Linked DNA regions of Homo sapiens: regions 2 and 3 are each linked to region 1. Evidence: promoter capture Hi-C in human tissues and cell types (Jung and others, 2019). All regions are on one chromosome and are shown on one strand. Each heading gives the region's core, a stretch centred on a gene start or on the middle of the fragment in contact. The rest is flanking DNA. Distances are from core to core; before and after follow the strand shown. Region 1 holds the start of KAT5 (lysine acetyltransferase 5). Region 2 overlaps SCYL1 (SCY1 like pseudokinase 1). Region 3 overlaps ZNRD2-DT (ZNRD2 divergent transcript).

Evidence for each region. Contacts are between HindIII fragments. The study calls those that stand out against the background at their distance.
Region 2: a contact is called between a fragment that was not itself captured here and the fragment with the promoter of KAT5 in region 1, in 1 of the 25 tissues and cell types used here (dorsolateral prefrontal cortex).
Region 3: a contact is called between a fragment that was not itself captured here and the fragment with the promoter of KAT5 in region 1, in 1 of the 25 tissues and cell types used here (spleen).

The regions. Positions count from the first base shown.
Region 1 is chr11:65,709,791-65,714,287 of GRCh38, forward strand. KAT5 (lysine acetyltransferase 5) reads left to right here and starts at 2,462. Exons shown (of 13, transcript NM_182710.3): 1 at 2,462-2,655; 2 at 2,976-3,044; 3 at 3,132-3,268; 4 at 3,558-3,713; 5 at 3,803-3,877; 6 at 3,984-4,058. The coding sequence starts at 2,478. RefSeq lists enhancers at 2,018-2,137, 2,168-2,477 and silencers at 2,508-2,697, 2,708-2,787. The HindIII fragment of the contact is 8,771 bases long and covers 1-4,497 here.
Region 2 is chr11:65,538,102-65,542,598 of GRCh38, forward strand. SCYL1 (SCY1 like pseudokinase 1) reads left to right here. Exons shown (of 18, transcript NM_020680.4): 16 at 1-81; 17 at 169-223; 18 at 341-603. The coding sequence ends at 465. It overlaps LTBP3 (latent transforming growth factor beta binding protein 3), which reads right to left. Exons shown (of 28, transcript NM_001130144.3): 19 at 3,499-3,627; 20 at 3,025-3,192; 21 at 2,770-2,853; 22 at 2,385-2,513; 23 at 2,144-2,281; 24 at 1,912-2,052; 25 at 1,619-1,780; 26 at 1,447-1,527; 27 at 1,227-1,358; 28 at 458-1,130. The coding sequence ends at 979. Among named protein-coding and RNA genes, the nearest start is that of SCYL1, 15 kb to the left of the region's middle. RefSeq lists enhancers at 1-407, 408-911, 2,517-2,811, 3,028-3,077 and silencers at 1,768-1,967, 2,018-2,777. The HindIII fragment of the contact is 9,195 bases long and covers 1-4,497 here.
Region 3 is chr11:65,564,767-65,569,263 of GRCh38, forward strand. ZNRD2-DT (ZNRD2 divergent transcript) reads right to left here. Exons shown (of 1, transcript NR_038923.1): 1 at 4,454-4,497. Among named protein-coding and RNA genes, the nearest start is that of ZNRD2-DT, 3.4 kb to the right of the region's middle. The HindIII fragment of the contact is 2,559 bases long and covers 1,371-3,929 here.

The DNA.
Region 1 (4,497 bases), core at 1,212-3,711:
TACAAGATACAGGTCATAAAGACCTTGCTGATAAAACAGGTTGCAGTAAGAAAGCCAACTAAAACCCACCAAAACCAAGACGGCCACCAGAGTGACCTCTGGTTGTCCTCACTGCTGCACTCCTACCAGTGCCATGGCAACGGCAGGAAGTTACCGAATATGGTCTAAAAAGGGGAGGCATGAATAATCCGCCCCTTGCTTAGCAGATCATCAAGAAATAACCAGAAAAATGGGCAACCAGCATTGAGTTCCTTTACTTTCCTAACAAACTTGCTTTCACTTTATGGCCTCGCCCTCAATTCTTTTTTTTTTTTTTTGAGACGGAGTCTTGTTCTGTTCCCAGGCTGGAGTGCAGTGGCCTGATCTTGGCTCACTGCAACCTCCGCCTCCTGGGTTCAAGCAATTCTCCAGCCTCAGCCTCCCGAGTAGCTGGGATTACAGGCGCGCACCACCACGCCTGCCTAATTTTTGTATTTTTAGTAGAGATGGGGTTTCATCATGTTGGTCAGGCTGGTCTCGAACTCCTGACCTCAGGTTATCCACCTGCCTGGCCTCCCAAAGTGCTGGACTCGCCCTGAATTCTTTATTGCACGAGATCCAAGAACCCTCTCTTGGGGTCTGGATGGGGACCCCTTTCCTGTAACACTGGGATTATAGGCGTAAGCCACCATGTTCAGCCACCTTTGAGGCAGGAAAATAGGGTCTGGAGGCAGGGAACATATAAGGCTGATTCACACTTCAGTTATGACAGGAAATATCCTCTCCTTAGGGAGTACACCCTAAATGACTTTGTAACTTTACTTCATCCTCTTCATTTACATATGGCATATCCCAAATAACCAATGGAATCCTCCAAAGGGTATTTAAACTCCAACAAATTCTGTAACTGGGCCCTTGAGCACCTATGCTCAGCCGGCCCCAACACTGGAGTGTACTTTCATTTTCAATAAATCGTTCATTCCTTCCTTGCTTTGTGCATTTTGTCCAATTCTTTTTTTTTTTCTTTTTCTTTGAGACAGAGTCTTGCTCTGTCTGGAGTGCAGTGGCGCAATCTCGGCTCACTGCAAGCTCTGCCTCCCGGGTTCACGCCACTCTCCTGCCTCTGCCTCCCGAGTAGCTGGGACTACAGGCGCCTGCCACCACGCCCAGCTAATTTTTTGTATTTATTTTTAGTAGAGACAGGGTTTCACCGTGTTGGCCAGGATGGTCTCAATCTCCTGACCTCGTGATCCGCCCGCCTCGGCCTCCCAAAGTGCTGGGATTATAGGCGTGAGCCACCGCGCCCAGCCGTTTTGTCCCATTATTTTAGATGCCAAGAACCTGTACACCCTCCACCGGTGACACCTTCACAGTTTTGAGGAGTATTCATGGGGTATTTTGTAAAATGTTTCTCAATTGGGATTTGTCTGATGTTTTTCTCATGATTAGACTGGAGGCAGCTGGGATTACAGGTGTGAGCCACCATGCCCAGTCTCCAAACCCTGTTTACACAAAAATTTTAAAAAACTAGCCAGGCTTGGTGGTGCGCGCCTGTAGTCCCAGCTACTAGAGAGCCTGAGGTGGATCACTTGATCCCGGGAGGGGGAGGCTGCAGTGAGCGGAGATTGTGCCTCGCTGGCTGCACTCCAGCCCGGGCGAGAGAGCCAGACCTTGTCTCAAAAAAAAAAAAAAAAAAAAAAAAAGCCTAATATGGCTGAGGGCGGTGGCTCACGCCTGTAATCCCAGTACTTTGTGAGGCCGAGGCGGGCGGATCACGAGGTCAAGAGCTCTAGACCATCCTGGCCAACATGGTGAAACCCCGCCCGTACTAAAAATACAAAAATTAGTTGGGTACTCGGGAGGCTGAGGCAGGAGAATCGCTTGAACCCGGGAGGCGGGGGTTACAGGGAGCTGAGATCGCGCCACTGCACTCCAGCCTGGCGACAGAGCGAGACTCCGTCTCAAAAATAAATATATACAAATTAAAAAAGCCTAATATACAAAATAAAGCTAGGAATCTTCCCTGAGTCCTCTTGCCTACGGAATGAAGTCCACAGACTTGGGGGAGCGTTCGAACCCTTCTAAGGCCACTTCCTTTCTCCAGCCTCTCGCGCCCAGTTGACTCCCGGCAACACCTCCCGCCGCCACAAGGAGACGCCCGAGGACTTCCCTCCGACAAAGCCAAAAACGGTATTGCCACGTGACCCGCTCCGCATACACGTGACCAGCTTCGCACCCGGTGGGCGTCACGTGACGGACTCAGTAGACCGCCACTGGCTGTGCACGTTATGGGGTTTCCACCTAGGGCTCGGCCTGAGGCTTGTAACACTCCGTTTTCCCCCGAGTCACAGGGGCAGTCTTGCCCCTCGCAGCTGGGTCGCGGTGTCTCTCAAAGGTCCCCCTCTACAGGGGCTTCGTGAGGCCCGGGCCCACAGGGCGCTCGGTCCCGGAAGTGACGTCTCCCAGAGGGGCCGGAAGTGGCAGTGGAGGGAGGGAAGATGGCGGAGGTGGTGAGTCCGGTGCCCGGGGCGGGGCGGAGGGAGCCAGGGGAGGTGGGTAGAGCCCGAGGCCCCCCAGTAGCCGACCCTGGCGTCGCGCTGTCTCCCCAGGGGGAGATAATCGAGGGCTGCCGCCTACCCGTGCTGCGGCGGAACCAGGACAACGAAGATGAGTGGCGTGAGTGACGTTGGGGGGCGGGACTAAGGAACCTGAGGGCGAGGGGCGGGAGTCAACTGAAATCCCGGGATGGGGAGGGGCGTCTGGAATTATGGGGCGGGCGAGGCGCAGATACTTTGATGAAGGGGCGTGGCTCTTAGCTGCTCCGAGAGGTACAGGGCGGGGCCTGGAAAGGGGTGGCACTTGTGACTGAAGGAGGCTTAGGAGAGACCTAAGTGCTGGAGCTTAGGGATCCGGCCTGGGGGTGGAGTTCAGGTCGTGGAAGGGTGGAGTCTCATAGCCTGGCCTGTCTAAGGCCCCTGTCTATGCTATTCTCATAGCCCTGGCCGAGATCCTGAGCGTGAAGGACATCAGTGGCCGGAAGCTTTTCTACGTCCATTACATTGACTGTGAGTTCTGGGCCTGAGGTGGGGCATCAGGGTAGGGTTGGGGGACAGTCTTTGGCATTCTGTCCTGAGCCATCCCCACTGCTACAGTCAACAAACGTCTGGATGAATGGGTGACGCATGAGCGGCTGGACCTAAAGAAGATCCAGTTCCCCAAGAAAGAGGCCAAGACCCCCACTAAGAACGGACTTCCTGGGTCCCGTCCTGGCTCTCCAGAGAGAGAGGTGGTGAGTAGGTCCCCCACTTCACCTTTTCTCTCCTGCCTCCTATTTCTCTTGTCTGTTGGCATTAGGAGCTCCTGGATGGGCAGGAGGCGGCTCCCTCTCACCCTGACTTCATCTTGCAAAGGATGGGGGCCAAATTGCACATGTAGCTCCCAGAGTCCAGTAGCTAGTCCTGTGTCCTTCAGAAGGCGAGGGTGGGGTTTGATAATTTTGAGGTGAGGGACCCCTCTTCCCCTTCCCCATCCCACTGCCATCCCCGCCCCAAAGGAAGACCCTGGACCTATCTCTACAGCCGGCCTCGGCGCAGGCCAGCGGGAAGACCTTGCCAATCCCGGTCCAGATCACACTCCGCTTCAACCTGCCCAAGGAGCGGGAGGCCATTCCCGGTGGCGAGCCTGACCAGCCGCTCTCCTCCAGCTCCTGCCTGCAGCCCAACCACCGCTCAACGGTACCCTCAGCAATTCCAGGGACCTTGCTTTCTTCTCAGGTCCCACCTTCTCTACCTTCTGACCCACCTTTGTTGGTTTCTCTCTGCAGAAACGGAAGGTGGAGGTGGTTTCACCAGCAACTCCAGTGCCCAGCGAGACAGCCCCGGCCTCGGTTTTTCCCCAGGTGAGTTCCCCAAACCATCTCTTGTTCTCTTCCTCTCTTCTACTCTCTGGTGGCTTTTTTCAGGCTCATTTCACAGCCATCCCTTCTTTTCCTACTATCTCGGCAGAATGGAGCCGCCCGTAGGGCAGTGGCAGCCCAGCCAGGACGGAAGCGAAAATCGAATTGTTTGGGCACTGATGAGGTGGGTCTGGGGAGCAGCAGAAGGGAACTGGGTGAAAAGGAAGGGATGCAGGCAGGGTGGAGAGTTATTTAGTGATGAGTTTAAAAATAAAGAAGGGGTGGTGGGCAGAGCTAGTGTTGGTGGGATTAGGAGACAGGCAGAACATTGTTCAAATGAGTCATTGGGGCCGGGCACCATGGCTCATACCTGTAATCCCAGCACTTTGGGAGTCCAACCAAGGCTGGTGGATCACCTGAGGTCAGGAGTTTGAGACCAGCCTGGCCAACATGGTGAAACCTTGTTTCTACTAGAAATACAAAAATTAGCCAGGCGTGGTGGCGGGTGCCTGTAATCCAGCTCGGAAAGCTGAGGCAGGAGAACTGCTTGAACCCCGGAGGTGGAGATTGCAGTGAGCCAAGATCGCGCTACTGCCCTCCAGCCTGGGCGACAGACTGAGACT
Region 2 (4,497 bases), core at 1-2,500, 170 kb before region 1:
AGCGAGTATAACTGGGGTGGCCCAGAGTCCAGCGACAAGGGCGACCCCTTCGCTACCCTGTCTGCACGTCCCAGCACCCAGGTACCCAGCACAGGTCTGGCGAGAGGGTAGAGATGGTGGACCTCAGCCAGAAGTGGGCCCCACTGCAGCCCACACTTCTCTTTACAGCCGAGGCCAGACTCTTGGGGTGAGGACAACTGGGAGGGCCTCGAGACTGACAGTCGTAAGTGCTTCCCCTGGGTGGGCTGAAGACTAGGGCTCCCCGACTAGCCCGCCCCTACAGGCCCCCGGCAGGCACTGGCTGGAGAGCTGAGACCGGGGCTCCCCTTCCTGACGCCAGGACAGGTCAAGGCTGAGCTGGCCCGGAAGAAGCGCGAGGAGCGGCGGCGGGAGATGGAGGCCAAACGCGCCGAGAGGAAGGTGGCCAAGGGCCCCATGAAGCTGGGAGCCCGGAAGCTGGACTGAACCGTGGCGGTGGCCCTTCCCGGCTGCGGAGAGCCCGCCCCACAGATGTATTTATTGTACAAACCATGTGAGCCCGGCCGGCCCAGCCAGGCCATCTCACGTGTACATAATCAGAGCCACAATAAATTCTATTTCACACCCCTTGTGCCGGGCTCAGTCTAGCCCCTGGGAGGCGGCTGGGGTCTGGCGCCGCCCTGCGCAGCCCGCGCCCACGTCAGACGTGAACATCAATTTGCTTCGAAAGCCAAGGGTAAAGAGGCACGATCTGATTTATCAGTTTCTAGGAAACACCCTCTGGGAGGAAGGCAGGCAGCGCCCGCCGGAGACCTTACAACCGCCCGCTAACCGGGGAGGGGGGCCGGTAGGGGCGCCTCGGGTCTCAAGGCGCCGGGAGGGTCTGCGGGCCCTGAAGGTCCCTGGGTCCGAGCCACAAGTCGGGGCAGAAGTGAGGCCGAGCTCGCGGAAATCCCTCAGTGATCACCGAGGTCTGGGCCGAGGGCGGCGTCGGCGGCGTCAGCGGCGGCGCTGGGGAACGCAGGCCCCGTGCGGGCGGCTGCGCGCGAAGCCGGCTTTGCAGACGCAGCGGAAGGAGCCGCTGGTGTTCACGCAGCGCTCGCTCTTGCACAGCAGCCCGCGCTGGTTCAGCTCTCGGCACTCGTCGATATCTGAAGGTGAGGGCGACAGGTGCGGCTTCGCTGAGCCTCCAGGCGGCTCCTCACCACCGGCCCCGCCCCTGCCCCCACCCCCGAAGCCCGGCTCACCCACGCAGCGGGCGCGGGAGGCGTCGAGCTGGAAGCCGCCGGGACACTCGCACACGGCGCCGCCCGGCCGCGGCACGCAGCGGCCACTCACGCAGCGACACTCGTCTGAATCCTCCTCTGAACTGTCCTCATCTGCGTGGCCCGGAACAATATGGACTTCAACACTGAGCCCCGGCCAAAGGCTACCAACCCCGCCACCGCCCGACCCGGCAGCACTCACCTCTTGGGGGCTTCCCCAACAGCAGGGGGCTTGTGTCCCAGAAGGAATTGCTCTCGCTCTGCGATGTCGGGCAATGGGACCCTGGGAGGAGCAGAACTGGTCAGCGACGTCCGGGTCCCCGGGCCCTGGCCCCCATCCTCGCTCCCGGCCAACTCCTCCCCGACTGCCTTACCCGCGCCGCGCGGCGGGCACGGTCGGCATTGGGCGCCCCAGCCGCGGCCCTGGCGGCAGCAGCAGTCGTCGAAGGTGAGGGCAGGCCCGGCCAGGGGGCCAGCGCACATGCCGTCCTCTCCGCGCTGGCTCCAGCACACGTCGCGCCGCTCCGGGGCACGCTCTGCGGAAGACACCTGGCATCAGGGGAGGGGCCCAAGGCAGGAACCGCCCGCCTCCGCCCCACCCCACCTGCGCGGGGGCCACGTGACGGACAGGGCCCCGGGATCGGCCAAGGCCAACCCTCGCCCTCACCGGCCGGGCTCTCGGGGAGCTGGCAATCGCGGCCGGAGGGCCCGGGCACCCAGGGCGGGCGACACTCGCAGCGGTAGGAGCCCGGCAGGTTGACGCAGCGGCCAGGGCGGCAGGCTGCCGGGTCCTGGCACTCGTCCACGTCTACGAACAGCGAGGGGGTGGGTGGGGGCCGTCACAGCTCGGCCCGGGCCCCGCCCCTCCCGCGTACCCCACTCCCCGGCCCGGGCCTCACCCATCTCTTCCGGGCTCAGGCACTGGCGCTGCGCGGGACTGTACTCGGCAGGGGGCGTGCAGGCACAGCGGTAGCCGCCGCGCGTGTTCTCACACACTCCGTTCCGGCAGTTGGACTCGTCCAGGCACTCGTCCACGTCTGCAGGGAGGAAAAGCGTGGGTAGCAGGGGCAGGCCCGGGATGGGCGCGGTGGCGCGTGTCTCCCTGCCGCTTCCCCACGGCCGCCGGGGGGCGGAGCTCACCCACGCATTCCAGCAGGTTCCCGTCGTAGTAGAAGCCCTGCTTGCAGTAGCACTCGTAGCCAGGCTGCGTGTTCACGCACTTGCCCTCCTTGCAAATCTCCGACCCGAACAACATGCACTCGTCGATGTCTGCGGGGTGACAAACACTGGCCGCTCCGGTCCCGCAGCTGCAGCCCGGAGGCGTGGGCTGGGCGCACCACCGGAGCGAAGCCATCCCCGGGCGGGGCCTACAGGAGGGGCGGGGCCTACAGGGCGGGGCCTGCGAGGAAGGTGCGGGCGGGGCTTACCCGGCGCGGGCAGCTGACCCAGCGAGTCCCGGCGGGATCCGGGCGAGCCCAACCCGGGGTGAGAGGGCGCGGGGCGGGCGGAGCCGCAGGGCGCTTACCACGGTGGGCTGGGATGCCGTAGTTGACGATGTTGTTGTCCTGGGTGTAGCCCTTTCCGTCTGGGCAGAGGCTGTGGAACTCGGCTGCAGGGGCAGGGCGGCCGTGGGGAGGGAAGAGGCAGGACTGAGCGCGCGCGTGGGCTTAGGGCTGCAGCCCGCCGCCTATTTCCCAACTGCCAGGGGGCGCCATTTCCCACATTTGGCTTCCAGATGAAGAAACTGAAGATCTGGGAAGGGGCCTGCCCGGCTCCTGACCTGAGCTGTAGACTGGGCAGGGGTAGATTTCGCAGTGGTCGCCCCAGCCGGCCCCCAGAGAGCAGCAGCACTCCTGCTGGGTCACGTTGGTGGCCAATACGCTGTCGCAGAACACTGTGTCATCGAAGTTCAGGTAGCACTCCTTCTTGTGGTGGGGCTGCTCCACCTCTGAGGGGCAGACGGCAGCTCAGGGTTGTGCACAGACCCCCCTTGGCCCTGTCCACCCTGCCCACCCACCACAGGTCTTTCCCCCCACATTCCCTGGCTCCCCTTAGCCTCCTCCTGAGAGTTGGCTCTGTTCTCAACGTGGTGTTCTGGACCCTTCATCGTCTGGCCCCACCAGACTCCCCCAGCCAAAAGAGATTTCTTCCGGTTCCCCAAATTTAGGAGGGTGGGGCCAGGACACATCTCTGAATCCCAGCTGCAGCTCAGGGGAGTTGTCCAGTCCGAGGGAGGAGCTGGGAGGACACTCACCCTCACAACCGTGCTGGTCCTGGGTGGGAGTGAAGCCCTCATCGCAGACACACACATAGGAGCCCTGAAGGTTCTTGCAGGCCCCATGGGGAAGGCACAGGCTCGGGTCCTGGCTGCACTCATCTATGTCTGCGGGGCAAGAGTAGCGCAGCTGGAAACCCAGCCCCTCTTTCCCTGGGGCTGCACCTCAAGGGCCTCACACAAGTTCAGAACCTGAATTTCCACTTTGGTTTCAAAGTATGTACAGCAGGAAGTCTGCTGTGTCTGTGCATGTGTCTGAATGTGCATGTGGACATTAGCTGCTGTCCTTCATAACACCTTCAGTGGCTCCCACTAACCTTACAAAACCTAAAAGTATCAGAAGCCCAAATGGAAAGGCCTCAAATGCAATTGAGCTTCCGATACCTTTAGGTCTCATCACGCCTTACTCTAGACCACCCTCCACTCCCCAACTCTGTGCTCAGGGCACCCTCCCCTCCTCTGTAAACACAACTAGCTCCTTCCAGATCTCTATGCTTTGCAATTACTGCTCTTTGGTCCTGGAATGACTTCTCGTGCCTTGCCTTTCCCATGCCTAGGGAACTCCTACTTACGTTTCAGTCCAGTTCAACATTCACCTCCCCATTGCAATTAATCATTAGTCTATACCTTTCTTGGCACCCAGGACCCTGAACTGTCAGAATCAGTTTACATGTTGGCCTCCCCTAGCTGGGAGCCCTGGGTGATTGTTGATTACCTAGTACAAAGCACAGAACCTGGAAAATAGTAGGTGCTCAATAAACTTTTTTTTTTTTTTTTTTTTTTTTTGAGATGGAATCTCACTCTCTGCCCAGGCTGGAGTACAGTGGCGTGATCTCGGCTCACTGCAACCTCCGCTTCCCATCTTCAAACGATTCTTCTGCCTCAGCCTCCCGAGTAGCTGGGACTACAGGCGTGCGCCATCACGCCCGGCTAATTTTTGTATTTTTAGTAGAGATGGGGTTTCACCATATTGGCCAG
Region 3 (4,497 bases), core at 1,400-3,899, 140 kb before region 1:
CAAAAATACAAAAATTGGCTGGATGTGGTGGTACACGCCTGTAATCCCAGCTACTCAGGAGGTAGAGGTTGCAGTGAACCGAGATCGTGCCACTGCACTCCAGCCTGGGCGACAGAATGAGACTCTGTCTCAAAAATAAAAATAAAAATAAAAATAAGCAGGGAATCAGTGGGCTGATATTTATGAAGCCCTTAGCAGATGCCTGCCAAATAGTAAGCACTCAGGATATGTGAGACCTTTTCATCATTGTCTGGATCTGCAAGCCAAGATGGGCAGGGTGGTGAGAGACGGGCTGCTGGTGGAGAGCCACCGTGCCACGAGGGCTGACTGTGTGTCAGAGGCTGTGCCGCCTCCATGTGTTGTCCCTCTGAGTTCTGAATGTCTTTGGGAAGCTTCTGGGCTCTGAAGAAAGAAATGGCTCTTGGCGAGGGGGTGGGTGGGTAGAAGGGAAGGGGGTCACACTCATCAGTTTTATTTTTTTTTTGAGACAGAGTCTCACTCTGTTGCCAGGCTGGAGTGCAGTGGCACAATCTCAGCTCACTGCAGCCTCCACTTCCTGGGTTCAATCGATTCTTGTGTCACGGCTTCCTGAGTAGCTGGGATTACAGGCAGCCACCACCACCACTCCCAACTGATTTTTGTATTTTTAGTAGAGATGAGGTTTCACCATGTTGGTCAGGCTGATCTCGAACTCCTGGCCTCAGGTGATCTGCCCGCCTCGGCCTCCCAAAGTGTGGGATTACAGGCATGAACCACTGCGCCCGGCCTTGCTCATCAGCTTTAAAGATGAGGGATGGAAGTGATGAAGGCCTGGAGGGGACAAGGTTGCCCTAAAGCATTTCTCTCCAAAGACACTTTACTGAAAGTGGCTATTAAACCCCTCTAATGTGCCACTTACTGTGGGTAGTAAAACGATGGACACTGAGAGTTGGGATTGGAAATGAGATGAAACTACCTTCACGCTTGATAAATCAGGGGGCCCTTCTGCCCTGCCACTCTTCCCCGCCTTTTGAGCACGGGAGAAATCTACTGGTAAGAGCTCAGGCTCAAGAGGTACACTGGCTGCCAGCCGGGAGCCCCAGCCCTGCCACTCCCAACTGGGTGACTGTGGATACATCTCTCACTACTCCAGGCCTCAGCCTCCTCATTTGCAAATTGGGAATGATGATAAGACCTAGCTGCCAGTGTTGTCCTAAGGAATAAGCGAAATACTTCATAAAGAGCTCTTAACACAGTGCCTGGCCCAAAGAAAACACACACACCAAGTTGAGTGTGATTATTTTTATTGTTGTATCATCCAGCCACTTCCTGTTTCACAGAAATGTCAAGGTGATTCACATTGCAGTGAAAACCAAAAAAAAAAAAAAAAAAAAAAGAATAGCTGACCCCTTTTCAGTGCCTGTGTGAAAATACAAATGATAAGTTACGTTTTTCAGAGGCCAGGCAACATGGCATAGGCCACTTGTTGCCATGTGAACCATCCCCACCAAATCAGCCAGCCCAGGGGGAGCTGTAATTGAGCTGTGCATGACTGAGCTGCTGTGGGGTGCTCTATCACCCAGAAAAGAGCCTAACTACAGCCATGTCATCAGTGCCACAAGGAGGGACCAATTTGGACTGGCTCACATGAAACTGTGATTCCCTTCCCTCCCCCTCCCCCTCCTCCTTTCCCTCCTTTCTCTTCCCTGACTCCATGCTCTGTTGCCCAGGCTGGAGTGCAGTGGCAGGATCTCCACTCACTGCAACCTCCGCCTCCCAGTTCAAGCAATTCCCGTCTCAGCCTCATGAGTAGCTGGAACTACAGGCTCGCACCACCATGCCCAGCTAGTTTTTGTATTTTTAGTAGAGATGGGGTTTCACTATGTTGGCCAGGCTGGTCTCGAACTCCTGACCTCAAGTGATCTGCCAGTCTTGACCTCCCAAAGTGCTGGGATTAAAGTTGTGAGCCACCATGCCTGGCTGAAGGTGTGATATATTGTCGGCAAGGGAAGGGTGTGAAAGAGCCCAAGCCCATTGCTCCACAGACACTGGCCTGTCCACTGTGACTGCTGCGAATAGGTTTTACCACCAACACCTGTGAGCACCTTCTATGTCAAGGACTGTGAAGCATCTGAGATCTTACCCACTTGCAAGCTACCAAGGTAGCCCGTCAGGTTCAAGAATGCTGGCAGAATACAGGAGAGTCCTGGGTCAGAGACAAAGGACTTGATCGCTGTGCAGCAAACAGCATGAGCACCAGCATATTTCCGTTAGTTCCTTTTGACCCTAAGTCCCATGGGGGTGATGCTGATGGGCTCAGGCAAGTGTGGGCACACAGAGCGAATTACATTGTGGGAGAGGACCCTAAGCTTAGGAAACTCAAAGCCAGTAAGCATGGCTGTCCTTTGCTCTGGAGGGAGACACTATCTCCATCTTCCATAGCTGTTCCCTAGATAAACATCTTTGAAGCTGGCGCGGTGGCTCAGGCCTGTAATCCTACCACTTTGGGAGGCTGAGGTGGGCAGATCACCTGAAGTCGGGAGCTTGAGACTAGTCTGGCCAACATGGTGAAACACCGTCTCTACTAGAAATAAAAATTTAAAAAATTGGCTGGGCGCGGTGGCTCATGCCTATAATCCCAGCACTTTGGGAGGCCGAGACGGGCAGATCACGAGGTCAGGAGATCGAGACCATCGTGGCTAACACAGTGAAATCCTGTCTCTACTAAAAATGCAAAAAAAATTAATCGGGCGTGGTGGCAGGTGCCTGTAGTCCCAGCTACTTGGGAGGCTGAGGCAGGAGAATGGCGTGAATCCAGGAGGCAGAGCTTGCAGTGAGCCGAGATCGCACCATTGCACTCCAGCCTGGGCAACAGAGCAAGATGCCGTCTCAAAAAAAAAAAAAAAATTAGCCAGCTGTGGTGGCGCATGCCTGTAATCCCACTCCAGTGGGTGAGGCACAAGAATTGCTTGAACCTGGAAGGTGGAGGTGGCAGTGAGCCGAGAATTGCGCCACTTCACTCCAGGTTGGGTGACAGAGACTCCATCTCAAAAAACAAACAAGCAACAAATAGGCATAAGTGGCCCCATTTTTATTTTGAGTCAGGGTCTCGCTCTGTCACCCAGGTTGCAATGCAGAAGCCTGATCATGGCCCACTGCAGCCTGGATCTCCTGGGCTGGGAGCAATCCTCCCACTCAGCCTCCTGAGTAGCTGGGACTACAAGTGCATGCTACTGCACCAGCTAATTTAAAAAATACATATATTTCTTAGAGATGGGTTCTTACTATGCTGTCCAGGCTGGTCTCAAGCAATCCTCCTGCATGTCCTCCCAGAGTGCTGAGATTATAGGTGTGAGCCACAGCACCTGGTCTACTGGCCCTGTTTTACAGATGAGAAATTGAAGTCCACAGCGATGAAGTAAACTACTCCAGGTGATACAGTAAATAGATCCAGGATCAAACCCAGGCCTGCCTCATTCCAGTTCTGCGTCTTGTCCACCCTACAGTGGAACTTAAGATGGTGAGAGGCCCTGAGAGGAGAAAAGGGACAAGAGTCCTCTTGAGCAGTGGGAGAAGAGGGATGCAGGAAGGATGGGAGATGTGTGTGCATCTCTCTATGTGTTGTCTGGATTTGGGGGGTCAAGGACCAGATTTATAGGACCTTGGAGACCATAACAAGGACTTTGGATTTTTGTCTAAGTGTGATGGGAGATGCCAAATGGCTTTTTTTTTTTTTAGATAGAGTCTCACTCTGTTGCCCAGGCTGGAGTGCAGTGGTGTGATCTCGGCTCACTGCAACTTCTGCCTCCCGGTTCAAGCAATTCTCCTGGTTCAGCCTCCCGAGTAGCTGGGATTACGGGCGCCCGCCACCACACCTGGCTAATTTTTGTATTTTTAGTAGAGAAGGGGTTTCACTATGTTGGCCAGGCTGGTCTTGAACTCCTGATCTCAAGACATCTGCCCGCCTCGGCCTCCCAATGTGCTGGGGTTACAGGCGTGAGCCACAGTATCGGGCAGCCAGATGGTTTTTAGTACAAGAACGACACTGTATTTTAAAATAATTATTCAGTTTCCTGCTTATGTGGGGATATGTAAGGTTGTCATGAGGAGTAAATTGGAGAGATTAAGTGAGAGGACTCATGTAAGGCTCTTTGTAGGTGCGAGGCAGAATAGACAGTTGAGTGGATATTGGCCATGATGGTGACATAGTCGGCGCACTGAGGAATTCAGGGTAGGGCTGGGAGCTGGAGACGGTAATAACCTGGGGGTCTGTGCATACAGGCTGGAGTCCAAGAGATGGTTCAGAGACAGTTCCTCTAGTCAGCCTCAGGCTAGGTGCTGTGGCTCTTCGCTGTAATCCCAGCACTTTGGGAGGCTGAGGTGTGAGGATCACTTGAGTCCAGGAGTTGGAGACCAGCCTGGGCAACATGACGAAACCCCATCTCTACAAAAAATACAAACCAAACCAAACAAACACACAAAAAACGGTGGCTCTATTCAGCCTGATAGAAACGACTT